6 separate regions of the Homo sapiens genome follow, and all the other regions are linked to region 4. The links are contacts of gene promoters, found by promoter capture Hi-C in human tissues and cell types (Jung and others, 2019). All regions are on one chromosome and are shown on one strand. The core of a region is centred on a gene start or on the middle of the fragment in contact, and the rest is flanking DNA. Distances in the headings are between cores, read along the strand shown. Region 1 holds the start of CBX1 (chromobox 1). Region 2 overlaps SKAP1 (src kinase associated phosphoprotein 1). Region 3 overlaps SKAP1 (src kinase associated phosphoprotein 1). Region 4 holds the start of HOXB1 (homeobox B1). Region 5 holds the start of COPZ2 (coat protein complex I subunit zeta 2). Region 6 overlaps SKAP1 (src kinase associated phosphoprotein 1).

Region 1 (2,700 bases), core at 112-2,611, 430 kb after region 4:
AGCAAAACTGTCTTATAAATGCAAACTCTTGCCTTTTGGGGTAGAGTGCAATAGAGTTTCCCTCTTCCTCCTGATTAGAAGGATACTTTAAAATAAAAAAATAAAACTTTAGTTATATTGTGGCTTAAAAACATGTTTTTTTCCTAATTGTGTGTTTCCTTGGGATGATTGGGTGAAAGGTGCTGACGGAGATTAATGACACTGAAAAAGGTGAGCACAACTTACAATGAAAAAGAGGACATTTTTGTGGCGCAGCCAGTGAAAAGGGGGAAATTCAGGAAGCTATGAGAGGCCTATGGGGGGACCTAACCTACTCTAGGGAATCAGGGAAGACCTCAAAGGGGAAGTAATCTTAACACTGAACAGTATTTTTTTTTTTAGACGAAGTTTCGCTCTTGTTGCCCAGGCTGGAGTGCAATGGCGCGATCTCGGCTCACTGTAACCTCCACCTCCTGGGTTCAAGCGATTCTCCTCCCTCAGCCTCCCGAGTAGCTGGCACTACAGGCGCCCGCCACGACGCCCAGCTAATTTTTGTATTTTAGTAGAGATGGGGTTTCACCATGTTGGCCAGGCTGGTCTTGAAACCCTGACCTCAAGTGATCCACCCACCTCCGCCTCCCCAAGTGTTGGGATTATAGGCTTGAGCCACCGTGCCGGCGTGAGTAGGAATTTTACAGAGATTTGAGGAGGCAGAGATTGAGGACTAAGAAATCATTGGAAATTTGAGGCAGCGGCGATATGATAAAGTTCTGGTGAAGAATCTAAGATTCAAAAATTTTGAGGATGTGAATTACAGAACTGTCCAGAAGTGGTTGATTTTTTGGGGGCCAAGCATCAGGGGGCTCGCTTATAAAAATCATATGTTCTAATTTTTTTTTTTTTTTTTTTTTGAGATGGAGTCTCGCTCCATCGCCCAGGCTGGATCGCAGTGGCTGGATCTCGGCTCACTGCAAGCTCCGCCTCCCAAGTTCAAGCAATTCTTGTCTCAGCCTCCTGAGTAGCTGGGACTACAGGCACCTGCCACCACGCTCGGCTAATTTTTGCATTTTTAGTAGAGACAGGGTTTCACCTTGTTGGTAAGACTGGTCTCGAACCCCTGACCTCAGGTGATCCACCCGCCTCGGCCTCCCAAAGTGCTGGGATGACAGGCGTGAGCGACTGCCCCTGGCCCATATGTTCTAATATTCTAGGTTACAACGCTCTACGCTGCAATCTCTCCACCGTTACAGTTTAAAAACTATAAGTCCCTACCACCCTCGCCTACTGTGCGTGCGCGGCGCGCGGCGCTTCGGGCCTTGTAGTCTTGGACAGACCCCCGAGGCCCATGGTGCCGTGCGGCGGGTCGTTGCGCCTGCGCGGTGCGAGCGGCGGGCAGCGCAGACTGCGAGGCTCTTTTGTTCGGCTGAGGGGAGGGCCGTTGGCCGGGGCCTGCGGTACGCCGCTTCAGTGAGGGACGCCACTGCGGCCACCCGGCTTGCTGCCTTCCTGGGCGCCACTCCCCCAGGCGACCCGACGCGACGCGCCAGCAGCGCAGCACCGATTCCTCTCGGGCTCTTGGGCGCTGCTCTGAGGTGAGGAGCCCGCTGGAGGCGGGAGAGCTGGGGGAGGGGGCGCGGCGGCGGCGGCGGCGGGAGCCCTGCGTGAGGGAACGCGCTTTCGAGGCGGAGGTTAGGAGCGGGGAGCGCGCCCGGGTCCAGCGTCCTGCTTCTCCGCTTCCCGCGCTGAGCTCTTCGCCTGTCGCTGAGGCGTCGGTGCCAGCTGCGTGAAGGATGGAGAGGGCGGGGCGCGAATCCTGAGCCAGAGACTGAGTGCTTGGGGGTGGGCCGAGCACTTGGGGGCCGCTCTTCGGGGCCCGGGTGGTCTGGAACAATGTTGCTTGGCTGGGCGGCTGCGGGATAGGGCGGAAGGGGACAGGCTTGAGGCTTGGATAGGCGTGAGGAGGCGCATACGACCGCACAACCCGAGGTTTGTAACTGTATTCGGAAGACGCCGGGTCCGGCTGGGACTGCCAGAGGAACCTGGCTTTGCAGGACTACGGAGGAGTAACGTCGAGTGAATTGGAAGAGGGCCCAGGGCCGCACAAGGTGTGCTGATTGGAGGAGGAGATGTGTGGAATAAATTGGGAAAGGGGACACGGAGGGGGAGGGGCAGGCGTTTGCTGGGCCTGACTCTGGAAGGGGAGGAGCTGTTAGGATAAGTAGGGCGGAGATCCCGAGAATATTTCTATAAGGTATGTAAGAAAAAAGGGGAAAGCAGGCCGCCCTTGCATCCTGATGGGTCCTTACAGTGGGGAGGCTGTAAGAATAATGTGCGAAGAAAGGATGGAATACGCTTTTTTCAGTTTTCCAGGTTTCCTACTACCTTCACTCCATGATTCCTTTGGGGAGTTAAAAAAGTCCAAGTGCAGTTCTTGCTTTGATTCAAAATTAGTTCCGTACGTTTTTGTGTGGGATCGTAACTGGTCTCACAAAGGTGATGAAATTGTAAAAATATGTAGATGAGTTAATAGTTGAGGAACGGCGTGAGGTAGTGAGAGATTGTGAGATCGTGTGAGGTGCGAGAAATTGGGAGACATAGGAAAATTATGTGAGATTGTGAGGTAATATTTGTTTCGTGGGCCCTTCTGTTTTTAGCCAGCTTTTCCTTGTTGGAAAATTTGAATAGAGTGAGCTATATTTTACCTCTTTTTTTTTTTTTTTT
Region 2 (2,700 bases), core at 193-2,692, 390 kb after region 4:
ATTAAAAAGCAGAATTGAGCAAGATGAGCCTGCAAAGGAGAATGAGAAGAAGTAGAAGTAGAAGGAGAGAAACCAGGAGAGTATAATTATCATAGAAACTAAGAGAATAAAAGGCCTCAAGGAGGACCAATAGTGCCAGCACTGCTGAGAGATCAAGTAAGTTAAGGACTGAGAAGTGCTCAGGGAATTTGAGCAATGCAGAGGTTACAGGAGACCATGGAGAGAGAGCCTAAGTAGAGGACGGCAACCAAGCCTGATGAGAGCGGCTTCAACAGTGAACAGGAAGGAAGTTGGAGCAGTGAGTGAGTAAACTTTCCCAACAAGTGTGGCATAGACTAGAAGAAATGGGAAGTAGACATCAGTGGCAGCTATTTAATGGTTGTTTTAAAAAATGAGAGAAACTTGAACACCTTTCAGTGCTGGTGGAAGGAGCCATTTACTTTACAGGCAATGGTCAGTCTCCACAGAACCTCATCTCTCGGAAAGGAAGGAGGAGGGTTGCAAGTGCGTGTTGTGAGGGGTAGTCTTAAACCAGGGGAGGGGTGCTTCCCCGACTTTAATGGGAAAGAAAGATGGTTGTCAATACAGGTAAGTTCCTGCTTTGGTGGCTGGTGGCTGACAAATCTGATGGCTTCTCTTTTCCCTTTGAAGGTGGAGAAGAGGTTGTCAGAAGCAACATGAGTTTGAGGAGGGGAGATATTAGATATCATAATTCTATGATAATTATATGCATCCAGAGATAAAAAGATCACCAGATAATGCTAGGGACTCTGAATTTTACATATCACCAATCTGGTTTTACTTCTTTTGTTTTGTTTTTCCTAATAGTACTCAGCAACCAAGTGTACAAAGAAGCAGTTAGCTCTTTGGTACCCCAAATCCAATTGAACTGGAATATGTGATATTTCCCATACTTAAAATTTCATTCGGGGCCAGGCACGGTGGCTCATACCTGTAATCCCAGTACTTTGGGAGGCTGCGGCGGGTGGATGACGAGGTCAGGAGCTCAAGACCAGCCTGGCCAACATGGTGAAACCCCGTCTCTACTAAAAATACAAAAAATTAGCTGGGCGTGGTGGTGCACACCTGTAGTCCCAGCTACTCAGGAGGCTGAAGCAGAAGAATCGCTTGAACCCAGGAGGCAGAAGTTGCAGTGAGCTGAGATCTCACCACTGCACTCCAGACCGGGCAAAAGAGCGAGACTCCATCTCAAAAAAAAAAAAATTTATTTTGGCCAGGCACAGTGGCTCACACCTGTAATCCCAGCACTCTGAGAGGCCGAGGTGAGCAGATCACGAAGTCGGGAATTCGAGACCACCCTGGCCAACAGGGTGAAACACCGTCTTTACTAAAAATACAAAAATTAGCTGGGCGCAAGCCTGTAGTCCCAGCTACTCAGGAGGCTGAGGCAGGAAAATCATTTGAACCCAGGTGGTGGAGGTTGCAGTGACCCAAGATTGTGCCACTGCATTCCAGCCTGGGCAACAGAGTGAGACTCTGTCTCAAAAAAAAAAAATTTTTTTTTCATTCTAATTTTACTTCTTTCAAAAGAAAGAAAACATTTTCTGGTGCTATCAGAAATAGCCCCATACTCAGAGTGGGCACAGTGGCTCACGCCTGTAATCCCAGCACTTAGCAAGGCCGAGGCTGGTGGATCACTTGAGGTCAGGAGTTTGAGACCAGCCTGGCCAACATGATGAAACCCCATCTCTACCAACAATATAAAAAATTAGCCAGTTGTGGCCAGGCGCAGTGGCTCACGCTTGTAATCCCAGCACTTTGGGAGGCTGAGGCGGGTGGATCATCTGGGGTCAGAAGTTCAAGACCATCAAGGCCAACATGGTGAAACCCCATCTCTACTAAAAATAGAAAAATTAGCCGGGCGTGGTGGTGCGCGCCTGTAATCCCAGCTAATCGGGAGGCTGAGGCAGGAGAATCGCTTGAACCTGGGAGGTGGAGGTTGCAGTGAGCCGAGATTGCGCCACTGCACTCCAGCCTGGGAGACAGAGCCAGACTCTGTCTAAAAAAAAAAAAAAAAAATAGCCGGGTGTGATGGCACGCACCTGTAATCCCAGCTACTCAGGAGGTTGAGACAGGAGAATTGCTTGAACGTGGGAGCCGGAGGTTGCAGTGAGCTGAGATCTTGCCACTGCACTCCAGCCTGGGCGACAGTGCGAGACTCCGTCTCAAAAAAAAAAAAAGAAATAGCCCCATACTCTTCAACATCTGCTGTGCTTTTGAGAAGCTTTTCTGTATTCAAGGAGCTGCATCCTCACTCTGTGACTACCCCTTAAACTCTCTTTAAAACCCTCTCATCCTCTTTCTTGTTTGTTCCTCTCTGTGACTAGCCTGTCATTATTAATGTACCTGTCACCTCTCACCTGTTCTAGGGAAAGAATCTAATGTTTAGAGCATCTACTATGTATCAAACACTTTCAGTTGTTTTTACTTCAGTGATACAATTTACATCCCCACAAGATAGAAGGGAGATATTATCCCTACTCTCACAAAGAAGCTAAAGCTAGGAGAACCTAAGGTCATGTGACTACTAAATGACCAAGCGAGGATTAGATCTCAGTCTGTCTGACTCCAAAGCCCATTACTCTGCTGTAAGCTCCCAAGGAGCAAGCAATCTTCTGATTCATCATTACATACCTCATGGGAACTCAAACAGCACTTTGCACATAGAAGATGCTTGAT
Region 3 (2,700 bases), core at 90-2,589, 290 kb after region 4:
TGTGCTGGGGAGTCCATTCTCCTCCGGCAGAATTATACCCTGAAAACATGCCTTTCTAGGCACACTGATCAACGACGTTCATTCCCTGGGCTACCAAGGCACTTAATACAGCTAATTCAGTTAAAGAAGCCCGAGGGGTGAGGTGGATGAGCCTCTTTCCCTGCTGGAAGCCAGATGCCAGGCAGGTTAGTGATATTGCTTTATCCCTTCCCCCAGGTAAAGCTTCCAGGAGAAGCAGTTACTGCAAACGCAGAGAAAAATAATAAGAAAATGCTTCTAGTGTTGTTGGACTCAGTTCTCCTTCAAGCAGGAAATGCTGTCTTAACTCAACCTCATTAACCCCTTTGATACTAAGCCCATTATCAGGAATATTCAGGAAGCACATTCTTTCAGAATTCAGGATGTGTCAGGAGCCTTGATATCTTGACATCATTGTACAAAACTACCAGCAAAGAATGGAAAGTAAGAGAATAAGTGCTTTTGGGACAGGTAACTAAAAATGGAAAAAACTCCCAGTTTGGAAGATTATATCTGTTACTGCTGGGTTCAGAAATATTTTGAAAAGACACCAGAATTAAGTATATTTAGAATCACTTTATCAATCATGTATCATTTCTACTATTAGATGTTTTATAGTGAAAAGAATGTTGGAATGTTTCTTTGGCTGGTGAAAGTTTTAAGCATGGTTTTAGATCTGTTTTGTTTTGCTTTGTTAGGCCTTCCCCGAGAGAGGAAGAGTATTAAATATAGACTTATCTGCATGATCCATGTGAGGCATCTGGGTCTGCTTTTTGTGTCAGCTGAGGCACAAATGTGCATGATTTAACCATACAACTATTGAACTAGCATTGGCCTATTAAGACTTCAGATGATCTGTTCATGAGCTGTCAGCCCAAATTGAGCTTGAAGCCTGCTGTAAAAGATCTAATTTTCATAATTATCCAGAACCTTCACACCCTGCTTCCCTTCAGTACCACCCACCTCCACACATGCACACAGAGGAGTAAACACATACATATGGACACAGAGACACAGGGCAGCACTGTCCCTGGAGATTCATCAGGCCTCTTGCCCGAAAATGCAGAGTTCATCCAGGGGTCAGAACTGGCTTTGACTTCCTGTTTGAGGAGCCCCATGTGTGGTGTTCCAGCATTGCTAGAGGCTAGTGATGACTAAGTAACCTTTTCACACTATAGCCTCCCACCAAGAAACAAGGTCCCTTATGATCTTGGACCCAGAGTGATTAGGGCACAACAAATATCTTTTTAATATATAAGGTGGAACTAATGCCAGTAGAAATAGCACTTTGCTGTCTCATGGCCTCACATTTATAAAAAGAGGATAGAGCTGTTGTCTTTGAAGATGAAGAATTTTAAAGGCAACCTGATTTAGTCTCAGAGTACACTAGGGACTTTCATCGTTTAGTAGTTGCTTAAGGCTAACTTTGAGCTTTACCTGACCCAAGTCTTCAAAGGAAGCCATCATACTATGTGTGGAGTTCAGCTGGTAATATCTTTCTAGGTAATCTGGATTGTGAACGAGTGGGAACAGGCAGCACTTTCAGGTTTAACTCTTTGCAGCACTGGGATAACTGGCACATGCTTCAAGGATTAGGTCATTCTGATGTCCCTCCAGTAATTCCACTGGAACAACACTGCACAATAAACCATTTGGTTTCTGGACATATATTGCCCATGTGTGAAGGGTGGACAGGCAGCACTTTACTAGGTTCTTCTCATACAACCTCAGGTTTTTGAGGCTGCTGAGGTTTAAATCCCTTGTCTGAATATGGGACAACTGTATTTCTATACTGGTTGTCGATTGTCTTTGCCCTCAGAGGGCATTTGCTGCAACTCAGGGTTCTACAGTTAGAATAAAAGGAGTTATTTCCTGTCTTCACTGCTTTTTTGCTTTTTTTTATTTTTTTATCATGAGTGGAGACTGAGTACATTACTCAAACCTTGGCTTTTCCCTGAGGTCCGTTGTTTACAGAGAGACATTTGGGTCCCTGGGGCTCACTCCCATAAAATCTTATTATCATATATTTCAAGGCATAAACTTCAGTTGTCAGCTCAGGAGCAGTTCTGAAAGCACTGGCTGCTCTTGTTTTTCTTCTCCTTTACTCTGGTTTATTTTTCTTGCAGCTTTGGCTTTTTTTTTTCCCTTCTCCCTCATATCTAGCAATGCTCAATTCCAAGCTGGCTCGCTCCTTATTCCACTAATTAGACAAGAAGTCCAGAGAGGCCATTATTAGATTCTGAGAATCTTTATCAGAGCCCATTATGGCCTTAAATACTGCACAAACATTTTACTAACTGAATCCATGAACATTTCAGCTGATCCACCTTTGGTCTTTAACATCTACCTTCTTTTGTACCTATAGAGTTATGTTACTGATGATAGAGGTTCTCAACAGCTTATTTTTCTTTGTATTAATTTTCTTAGAGGCCATGATTCAAGTTCATTCTCTCTCTCTCTCTCTCTCTCTCTCTGTCTCTCTCTCTCTCTCTCTCATTCTAATTACTGTTGGTGGGGGTGGAGGGGGTCTGAGAAGCCTGCTTTTCCTTGGTGAGATACGTGTGAGTATGTGTAATGTCATATGTGTTAATGTCACCAGTGAGTAGGATTCATGGTTGCCTGTTTTTCTCTCATTTTCTTTACAGAGCCAGGGATTATTTGTATGGACCAATGGTCTCAGTT
Region 4 (2,700 bases), core at 20-2,519:
TCCTCACTCTGGAGTCTTAGAATTCAGAGCCTCAGGGCCTCCACCCCGATTCTCCCACTCTCTGACCAAACTCCCTTTATCAATCCTAGAAAAATTACTGAAATCTGGAGGAATCTTTAAGATTTAACTGGTATTAAATTTATGCATTTGAGGTTTGGAAATTTTTTTTTTTTGGAAGGAGATGGAGGGTGGTGAAGGAGAGACAGGTAGGAGGGAACCAGGAGAATGCAGGTCTCCACTAGTTTTAAACACTTCAAGAAGAGAATAAAAAATTCCCCTCCTCTTCACCCCGCTGTAAACATCACCTGGCTGTGCTCATTGTGGCTCTCTAGAGAGATATAGGGAGTTATTTAAGTCTGAGTGAGTGAGCCAGCTACAGCTATGGATGGCTAGAGAGAGGATAAATACATCTAGAGAGATGAGAGGTAGGGAACGAATATAAATATGGAGAAAGATGGACGAACAGAGAGATGGATTGAGACAGAGAGAATATAAAGAGAGGCTGAGGGAGAGAAATGGATGTGTGAATGAGGAGAGAACATTTATGCAAAGAGAGAGAGAGGGAAGATGGGGCATTTCTCATCCTTTTCTCCACATTTCTGTAGTCCTGCCTTGCTCCCTGAAATGCCAATTTCCCACCCCTGGCTTCATGAATTCTTCCTCTAGATTCTAGATCCTGCCCCACACCCTTAGGTGTTTTTGCACCACCTTCCCCCACCTCCCCACCACACAGTCATCCATTTGGCCCAAGATAACATACCTCACCCGGCTGTCCTAGCCCACCACCCTAAGACAAATTGGAAGAAAGGAACATGGTTTGGGAGTTCTGGGCAAAGTATGGAAGCTGGATTCCCCACCTCCAGGTCCACAGACTTAGGGGGAAGGTTTCTCTGAGGGGTGGGAAGAGTGAGGGGCAGCTGGCTTGAATTTGTCCAAATCTAATAACCCAGGAGCCTATTGAAGGCCTTGGGGGTTGGGAGGGAAGGAAAGTCTTGAATATTCTCCTAACTTTTTCCCCCTCTCCCTCTGGTCCCTTCTTTCCAAAAGTCTTTGAAGAAAGATGTTTTTGACGCTTCCATGTCGCTCTCAGATGGATGGGCTGCGGGTGATTGAAGTGTCTTTGTCATGCTAATGCTTGGGGGGTGATGGATGGGCGCTGGGGCTGCCAAACTCTGGCCCGCTTAGCCCATTGGCCTGGGAGAGATCACATGTGCCCCCTCACCCCCACTCCCTACCCCCTTCCTAGGGAAGCGCTTGCCCAGGCGAGCGGGTCAGGCCATGGATTCGAGCCCCAGCGCTGTGACATACTGCCGAAAGGTTGTAGGGCAAGAGGGTGTCTCCCCCAAACGGGCCGACCCTCCTGCGGCCTTGACGCATGGACTATAATAGGATGAACTCCTTCTTAGAGTACCCACTCTGTAACCGGGGACCCAGCGCCTACAGCGCCCACAGCGCCCCAACCTCCTTTCCCCCAAGCTCGGCTCAGGCGGTTGACAGCTATGCAAGCGAGGGCCGCTACGGTGGGGGGCTGTCCAGCCCTGCGTTTCAGCAGAACTCCGGCTATCCCGCCCAGCAGCCGCCTTCGACCCTGGGGGTGCCCTTCCCCAGCTCCGCGCCCTCGGGGTATGCTCCTGCCGCCTGCAGCCCCAGCTACGGGCCTTCTCAGTACTACCCTCTGGGTCAATCAGAAGGAGACGGAGGCTATTTTCATCCCTCGAGCTACGGGGCCCAGCTAGGGGGCTTGTCCGATGGCTACGGAGCAGGTGGAGCCGGTCCGGGGCCATATCCTCCGCAGCATCCCCCTTATGGGAACGAGCAGACCGCGAGCTTTGCACCGGCCTATGCTGATCTCCTCTCCGAGGACAAGGAAACACCCTGCCCTTCAGAACCTAACACCCCCACGGCCCGGACCTTCGACTGGATGAAGGTTAAGAGAAACCCACCCAAGACAGGTAGGGCTCAGATGTGGCCACCCCTTCTCCGGGGCCCAAAGCATCTCTGCTTCCCCTGCAGTGACATGTCCTGGGTCTGGGCTGGGTTCTTCTCTTTCAGCGGCTCTGGTAGACACAGGTAAGAGCACAACCTACGTCTCAGGTCAGGTGAGGTCTCCCCACCCAGTATGTAACCGGTCACCCCAGGAGTAAGTTTCCATACACACCCCACTTCCTGATCTGTGCACCCAGCACAGACCCAGGACCTGGTGTGCATGGGGGATGGAAGTATGGGGAAGGCTGCTCCAGACTTGGTGATCACCATGGGGGTACCTGGTGGTCCCTGGGAACTTTGACAACTGTACTTGGGCAGAATGGCAAATGGAGGTCCAGAGCCAGCCCCGGGAGGAGGGAAGCGGAAGGAGAAAGAGGTGAGAGAATTGACCTGGCCTTTCTCCCTGCCCCGCCCCTAGCGAAGGTGTCAGAGCCAGGCCTGGGCTCGCCCAGTGGCCTCCGCACCAACTTCACCACAAGGCAGCTGACAGAACTGGAAAAGGAGTTCCATTTCAACAAGTACCTGAGCCGGGCCCGGAGGGTGGAGATTGCCGCCACCCTGGAGCTCAATGAAACACAGGTCAAGATTTGGTTCCAGAACCGACGAATGAAGCAGAAGAAGCGCGAGCGAGAGGAAGGTCGGGTCCCCCCAGCCCCACCAGGCTGCCCCAAGGAGGCAGCTGGAGATGCCTCAGACCAGTCGACATGCACCTCC
Region 5 (2,700 bases), core at 44-2,543, 490 kb after region 4:
GATGGGAGGATTGCCTGAGCCCAGGAGGTTGAGGCTGCAGTGAGCCCAGATCGAGTCACTGCACTCCAGCCTGGGCAACAGAGTGAGACCGTGTCTCAAACAAGCAATATTAGTAAAAATAATATTTAGAGATTGAAAAAAGTGCAATGAAAGAAAGAAATAGGAACTGAGAGAATGTGACAGGAGAGACCTATCAAGTCAGATATGGTGGCTGTCAGGAGGACCTTTTGGTAATTATATTTCAGCAGAGGCTTGAAGATAAGAAGACTTGATGCATTCAGTGAGGAAAACCCCATTCTGTAACCATCTAGGGTAAGTGACTGTGGTCCACAACATAAGAGGGCTTGAAGAGAAGAATAGGGAAGAAATTTTGAGTCAAAAATCTGGGTTCTATCCCCAGTCAACTAGCTGTATAGTCTTGAAAAGGTCACACAACCTCTGAGTCTCTCTTTGCTTAAAATGAGGGTCCATTATGCCTATCTTACAGGTGTGGGCTATATTAGATAATGGATGTGAAGGTGTCAAATGTAAAATACACGCACAGTGTTTTTACCGGTAAATGCATACGTAGCACTAACATATCACTGGGATGTGAATTTCCCACTTGCCAGTGTACCCTGAAATGAGAGCTTGTCTTAGTTAGACTTAGACCAAAGAAACCAAAACATGCTGCAAAGCCCGATGTCATTGGTGGAGCATTTGTGCTGCTGGGCGTCTGTCTTGCTTCTGATGGTGCCATATCTGTGACTTAGGAGAGCCTGGGGAGGTGTCTCCGGGCCCATGGTTGCCTTCTGCAAGTAGTGAGAGAGGAATGAGAAAGCCTCTTCACAGAGGGGTGTCCCCAGAACTGTCCTCATTTGCTCTTGCTTATAGACCCTGTCCCTGAGATCTAAAGGGTGACCTGACGTATTTGTCCTCATGGTACCTACCAGAGGTCAACAGACAAAAGTGGGCTTTGCTTGTGTTTGCTGCTGGCCCCAGGACAGCCTATAGACACTGGCGCACACCAAAGCCACAGGCCGGAGAGCAGGCAGGAAGCAGGACGAGGGCTGGTCTTGGGGCACCCTGAGGATGCAGAGTTCGGGGATGTAAGGGACTCGGGAAGGAGCCAAGGAGGAGAGAGGGAGAGGAGAAGTGGGGGAAGGAGAGGTGGGGTGAGGGCGGGAGGGGAGATGGGGGAGAACGAGCAAGAGGACGGGGCCCCGAGGAAAGGGAGGCCACGCGCGAGAGGGGGCCGCGGGGCGGCGCGGAGGCGGGGCGGCGGCGGCGGGCAGGCGGCGGGCGGCGCTGTCAGTGCGAGGCGGCGAGCGGAATGCAGCGGCCCGAGGCCTGGCCACGTCCGCACCCGGGGGAGGGGGCCGCGGCGGCCCAGGCCGGGGGCCCGGCGCCGCCTGCTCGAGCCGGGGAGCCCTCGGGGCTGCGGGTACGGAGCGGGCGGGCGCGGGGATCCCGGGCGGCGGGAGCTGGGCAGGGACAGAGCAGGGTTAGGGGGAGCAGCCAACTCAGAACTCGCGCGCCCGGCGGCTGGGAACTTTGTGTCACCCCTGACTGGCCCCAGGACCCGGGAGGAAAAGTTCGTCCCAGCGCCGACCGGAGAGGAGGCCTGTCCTGAGTCCGTCGGCGCGGGGCTGAAGTTCTGGGTCCGTTTGGAGTGGGGGTGGCGGGTGAGTTGCGATTCCGCGGGGAGGGTAAGGAGTGGCCTGTCCGTCCCAGACTCGGCTCCCATCACCGGTGGGTGATGGGCATGCTTCTGGAGTCTACCCGGGCCAGGGCCTGGGGGCGCGCTGATAGCGCAGGTCCAGCCCGGCCAGGGATCAGCTGGAAGAAGGAGGCTCGGCCCGCTGTCCCCCCCGGCCCAGGTTCTGTGATACACTCCGACTCGGGCTCTGGAGCAGTCAGTGCATGACAGAACTTGGGCCCGGAAGGACCTTCTGCACCCAACGGGCACAGCGCCCACTCGGGGCCTGCAGTGGAACATCTGCCTGGGAGTGGAGTGGGCACCTGGGTTGGCCCATGTGGCACAGGGCTGGGCAGAACCAGCTGTGGACCTTGAGGACTGGGGTTGCTGGGGCCTGAGGATGTATCCTAGGGCCAGCAGATCCCATAGACACAGGGTGTCCACCTCGAGTCAGGGGCCAAACGGAACTCTCCTCTCCGGTGTCAGTTGCAGGAACCTTCCCTCTACACCATCAAGGCTGTTTTCATCCTAGATAATGACGGGCGCCGGCTGCTGGCCAAGGTAACCTCTGACCCCACCCATGAGGGACACAGTTCCCACTCAGCTGACACTCCTGTCTCAGGAGAAACTCCACTGTGATCTCTGTGACTCAGGGCAGCTCAGCTTAGACCCCTCCAGAGGTCCTTCTCATCCTCCTGCCTTGTCAAGGTGCTGCTCCCTGAAATGAGGGGTCTCCTCTATTTCTACTCATGTTCCCTGAAATGTTTCCTTATCATCCTGCTACTGGCCAGTTGGACCTGGGCATGGGAAGGTTCTGCCTAATGGGTCAGTGGAGTGTTGAGCCTGGGACCCAGGAGTCTTAGTCCCCAAACCCCCACACAAGTTCTTTTGTTCTTTGGGGTTTGTCTCTAAACCTCCACTTTTGTTCTACAGCTTGGTAAACACTAACGATTTAGTCTAAGGAGTCTAAGGATTTAGAACCAGATGGGATTTTAGAAACTGTATAATCCAACTCTTTAATT
Region 6 (2,700 bases), core at 153-2,652, 310 kb after region 4:
GATATAGAACATTACCAGCACCCCTAAAGCTTCTCTTTCTTTTTTTTTTCTTTTCTTTTTTTTTTTTTTTTTTTTTTTTTGAGATGGAGTCTCGCTCTGTCACCCAGGCTGGAGTGCAGTGGCGCAATCTGGGCTTATTGCAACCTCCACCTCCTGGGTTCAAGCGATTCTTGTGCCTCAGCCTCCCAAGTAGCTGGGATTACAGGCATGTGCAACCACGCCCGGCTTTTGTATTTTCAGTAGAAACAGGGTTCCACCATGTTGGCCATGCTGGTCTCAAACTCCTGACCTCAAGTGATCCTTCCACCTCAGCCTCCCAAAGTGCTGGGATTACAGGCGTGAGCCACTGCACCTGGCCTGAAACTTCTCTTTATGCCCCGTCCCAGTTATCTCCACCAAAATAACTACTATTCTGACTTCTATCACCAGATTAATTTTGCCTATACTTGAACTTCATATGAACAGATTCATACTATATATACTTTTGTGTGTCTGGACTCTTTCATTTAGCATTATATTTGTGAGGATTGTCCGTGTTTTTGCATGTAGCAAAACACATGTAGTTCCTTTGTTCTCATTACTATATAGTATTTCCTTTATTCATTTTATTTCATTCTATGGTAGGTAAACGTATGGTTTTTTTCTGCTTTGGAAATATTGTAAATAATGCTGTTGTGAACAATCTTATATCAGACTTTTGGAGCACCACTATGTTGGCATTTCTGTTTGGTATATAGCTAGGAGAGGAATTGCTGAATTAGAGGGTATGTGCGTATTCCGCTTTAGGAGATTCTACCAAACATTTTTCCAACAGACTTGTACCATTTTTACTCCCACCAACAATGTGTGAAAATTCCAGTTGCTCCTCATTCTCACTGATACTTGGTATTGTCAGTGTTTCTTAATTTTAGCAATTCTGGTGGGTGGCTGTAGTAGTTTCTTCAATTGAAATAAACCAGCTGCCTGGAGGGATTAGGTCTCTGAAAATATCCTTTTTTCCTGCTTCCATTGTACATTTGCCAGTGGATCACAGGAACATCTCCTCTGTGAGGAACAAAGTGGTAGCCTAGCCCTCATTTGCATGACTTTGAACTGTTATCTGTGGCTGCTGTAGCTTCTAGCCAGAGCAGACTGGGAGACACCGTGTGCAGCCAGATAACCTTTTCTTGTTCATTAAGGGCCCACTTAGCTCTCCATGGGGGTGCAGCAGACAGCCTAGAAAAGCAGGTAATGACTTTATGACTATATAATGCTAATTTCATCAATAATAATTCTAAGAGGAAAAAACCCAGAATTTAAATAACTGGGTTATGGTACCAACACACAAAAGTATGAAAGTCAGGTTGAGGACAGCTGTACTTGTTTTTGCAACTAACATTAACTGACATGACCCTATTCTCCATAATATGTATTCAGAGAGACTTTTAAACTGGATGCTGAAATCTAGAGGGGGAAGGGTTTAATTGCCTTGAAGTGTTTTGAAAATACTAACCAATAAACAGTCATATTAGAAATAGGCAGAACTGGTGCTTTATTTGAGGCTGGACATATAAGAGTTTCAAAAAGGTTTGTGGATGATAATTCCTCTCCTTTTGTCAGCAAGAAGTTCAAGTTCAGTGGCCAGTTTTTTTGCCAATGAGAAGTGAATAGTACAACTGACTTTTAAAATCAAATGTCACATTCCACATGGTTCCCACCTGGGTTTTAGTTTCTCAACAATGGAATACAATTTTCAATAAATCTAGAGATAAAAATTCTGCCCAAGTAACCTCATTAATATTGAGGGGACTCTTCTCTATTGGAAATCTGTGTGTTTTGTTCAAAAAATTGGAAGCAAAGAACTCTTTCAGGTTAATTCTAGAGATTCCAAAATTAAACATATACTATTAGATAAATACTAATAGGAAATTAGGTTGTTATATTTTTTCTATTTCTCTTTCTTAATCTGCCTTTCTCTTTATTCCCACTGTAAAATGTGTGCATGTTTATTCCTTTCTACTCTTCATGTTCTGATTTCACATGGCCACCCCATGAGGGTTTTTTTTTTAACAATCTGAAACCCCCAAAATATTGAATTATTATGGAAACAAGGTGCAGTATTTCAAGCATCACCCTACAATAGAAGTAACAGGATAATGATTTTCTTTCTCAGTTCAGATATTAGAGGCCCAAGTATTGATTGCCTGTTTCTTTTGCCTCCTGTGCTCTGATGAAACTACACTTTTGACACAAAGTCACAATAAAATGTGCCCTTTCCAGTATGAGATCTCTGTAAATGTCATTCACACAGTCATTGTTTTCTAATTCTTTGCATTTTCATCAGAGTAGCACACAAGCTCTTCGTTGAGTGGAGACAGAGCAAGCAGTGTTTAAATTTAGAATTCACTAGAACAACCAAGTTCCATTATTTTGCTAAGGACAGTTACAGTCTAATAATAGGACTCCTTTTCCATAGTGTTTATGAAATTATTATTCTTAGAATTGATTAAGTGATGAGGACTTTGATAACTAGAGGTTTCATGAAATGCTGTTGGGAATATTGATGTTGGGTTTGCCAGGCAAAGAGAGGTTGTAAAATCAGTGTGAATGTCAGTGTTTATGGATGAGAAGGGTTGGTTGGTAACATAAGCTGAAGCCAAGCTGGAGACCTAGAGGAAATGGCTGCTTCCCTAACCCAACTCTGCCAGCTAGTCTTCCTCC

The links. Contacts are between HindIII fragments. The study calls those that stand out against the background at their distance.
Region 1: a contact is called between the fragment with the promoter of CBX1 here and the fragment with the promoter of HOXB1 in region 4, in 2 of the 25 tissues and cell types used here (heart left ventricle and lymphoblastoid cells).
Region 2: a fragment that was not itself captured here is called in contact with the fragment with the promoter of HOXB1 in region 4 in 2 of the 25 tissues and cell types used here (adrenal gland and bladder).
Region 3: a contact is called between a fragment that was not itself captured here and the fragment with the promoter of HOXB1 in region 4, in 2 of the 25 tissues and cell types used here (lymphoblastoid cells and mesenchymal stem cells).
Region 5: the fragment with the promoter of COPZ2 here is called in contact with the fragment with the promoter of HOXB1 in region 4 in 1 of the 25 tissues and cell types used here (lymphoblastoid cells).
Region 6: a contact is called between a fragment that was not itself captured here and the fragment with the promoter of HOXB1 in region 4, in 3 of the 25 tissues and cell types used here (dorsolateral prefrontal cortex, spleen and thymus).

Annotation. Positions count from the first base shown.
Region 1 is chr17:48,100,139-48,102,838 of GRCh38, reverse strand. It overlaps CBX1 (chromobox 1), which reads left to right and starts at 1,361. Exons shown (of 5, transcript NM_001127228.2): 1 at 1,361-1,571. RefSeq lists enhancers at 943-1,202, 1,029-1,628 and a silencer at 1,573-1,622. The HindIII fragment of the contact is 10,755 bases long and covers 1-2,700 here.
Region 2 is chr17:48,137,711-48,140,410 of GRCh38, reverse strand. All of the region lies in intron 11 of SKAP1 (src kinase associated phosphoprotein 1), which reads left to right. Among named protein-coding and RNA genes, the nearest start is that of MIR1203, 17 kb to the left of the region's middle. The HindIII fragment of the contact is 8,333 bases long and covers 1-2,700 here.
Region 3 is chr17:48,239,643-48,242,342 of GRCh38, reverse strand. All of the region lies in intron 4 of SKAP1 (src kinase associated phosphoprotein 1), which reads left to right. Among named protein-coding and RNA genes, the nearest start is that of SKAP1-AS2, 53 kb to the left of the region's middle. The HindIII fragment of the contact is 4,655 bases long and covers 1-2,700 here.
Region 4 is chr17:48,529,580-48,532,279 of GRCh38, reverse strand. HOXB1 (homeobox B1) reads left to right here and starts at 1,269. Exons shown (of 2, transcript NM_002144.4): 1 at 1,269-1,952; 2 at 2,405-2,700. The coding sequence starts at 1,376. RefSeq lists an enhancer at 799-1,379. The HindIII fragment of the contact is 7,824 bases long and covers 1-2,700 here.
Region 5 is chr17:48,036,390-48,039,089 of GRCh38, reverse strand. COPZ2 (coat protein complex I subunit zeta 2) reads left to right here and starts at 1,293. Exons shown (of 9, transcript NM_016429.4): 1 at 1,293-1,423; 2 at 2,165-2,239. The coding sequence starts at 1,313. It overlaps MIR152 (microRNA 152), which reads left to right and starts at 1,843; the gene lies at 1,843-1,929. RefSeq lists an enhancer at 127-176. The HindIII fragment of the contact is 11,602 bases long and covers 1-2,700 here.
Region 6 is chr17:48,218,233-48,220,932 of GRCh38, reverse strand. The region is part of intron 4 of SKAP1 (src kinase associated phosphoprotein 1); the gene reads left to right. Among named protein-coding and RNA genes, the nearest start is that of MIR1203, 63 kb to the right of the region's middle. RefSeq lists an enhancer at 754-1,596. The HindIII fragment of the contact is 4,962 bases long and covers 1-2,700 here.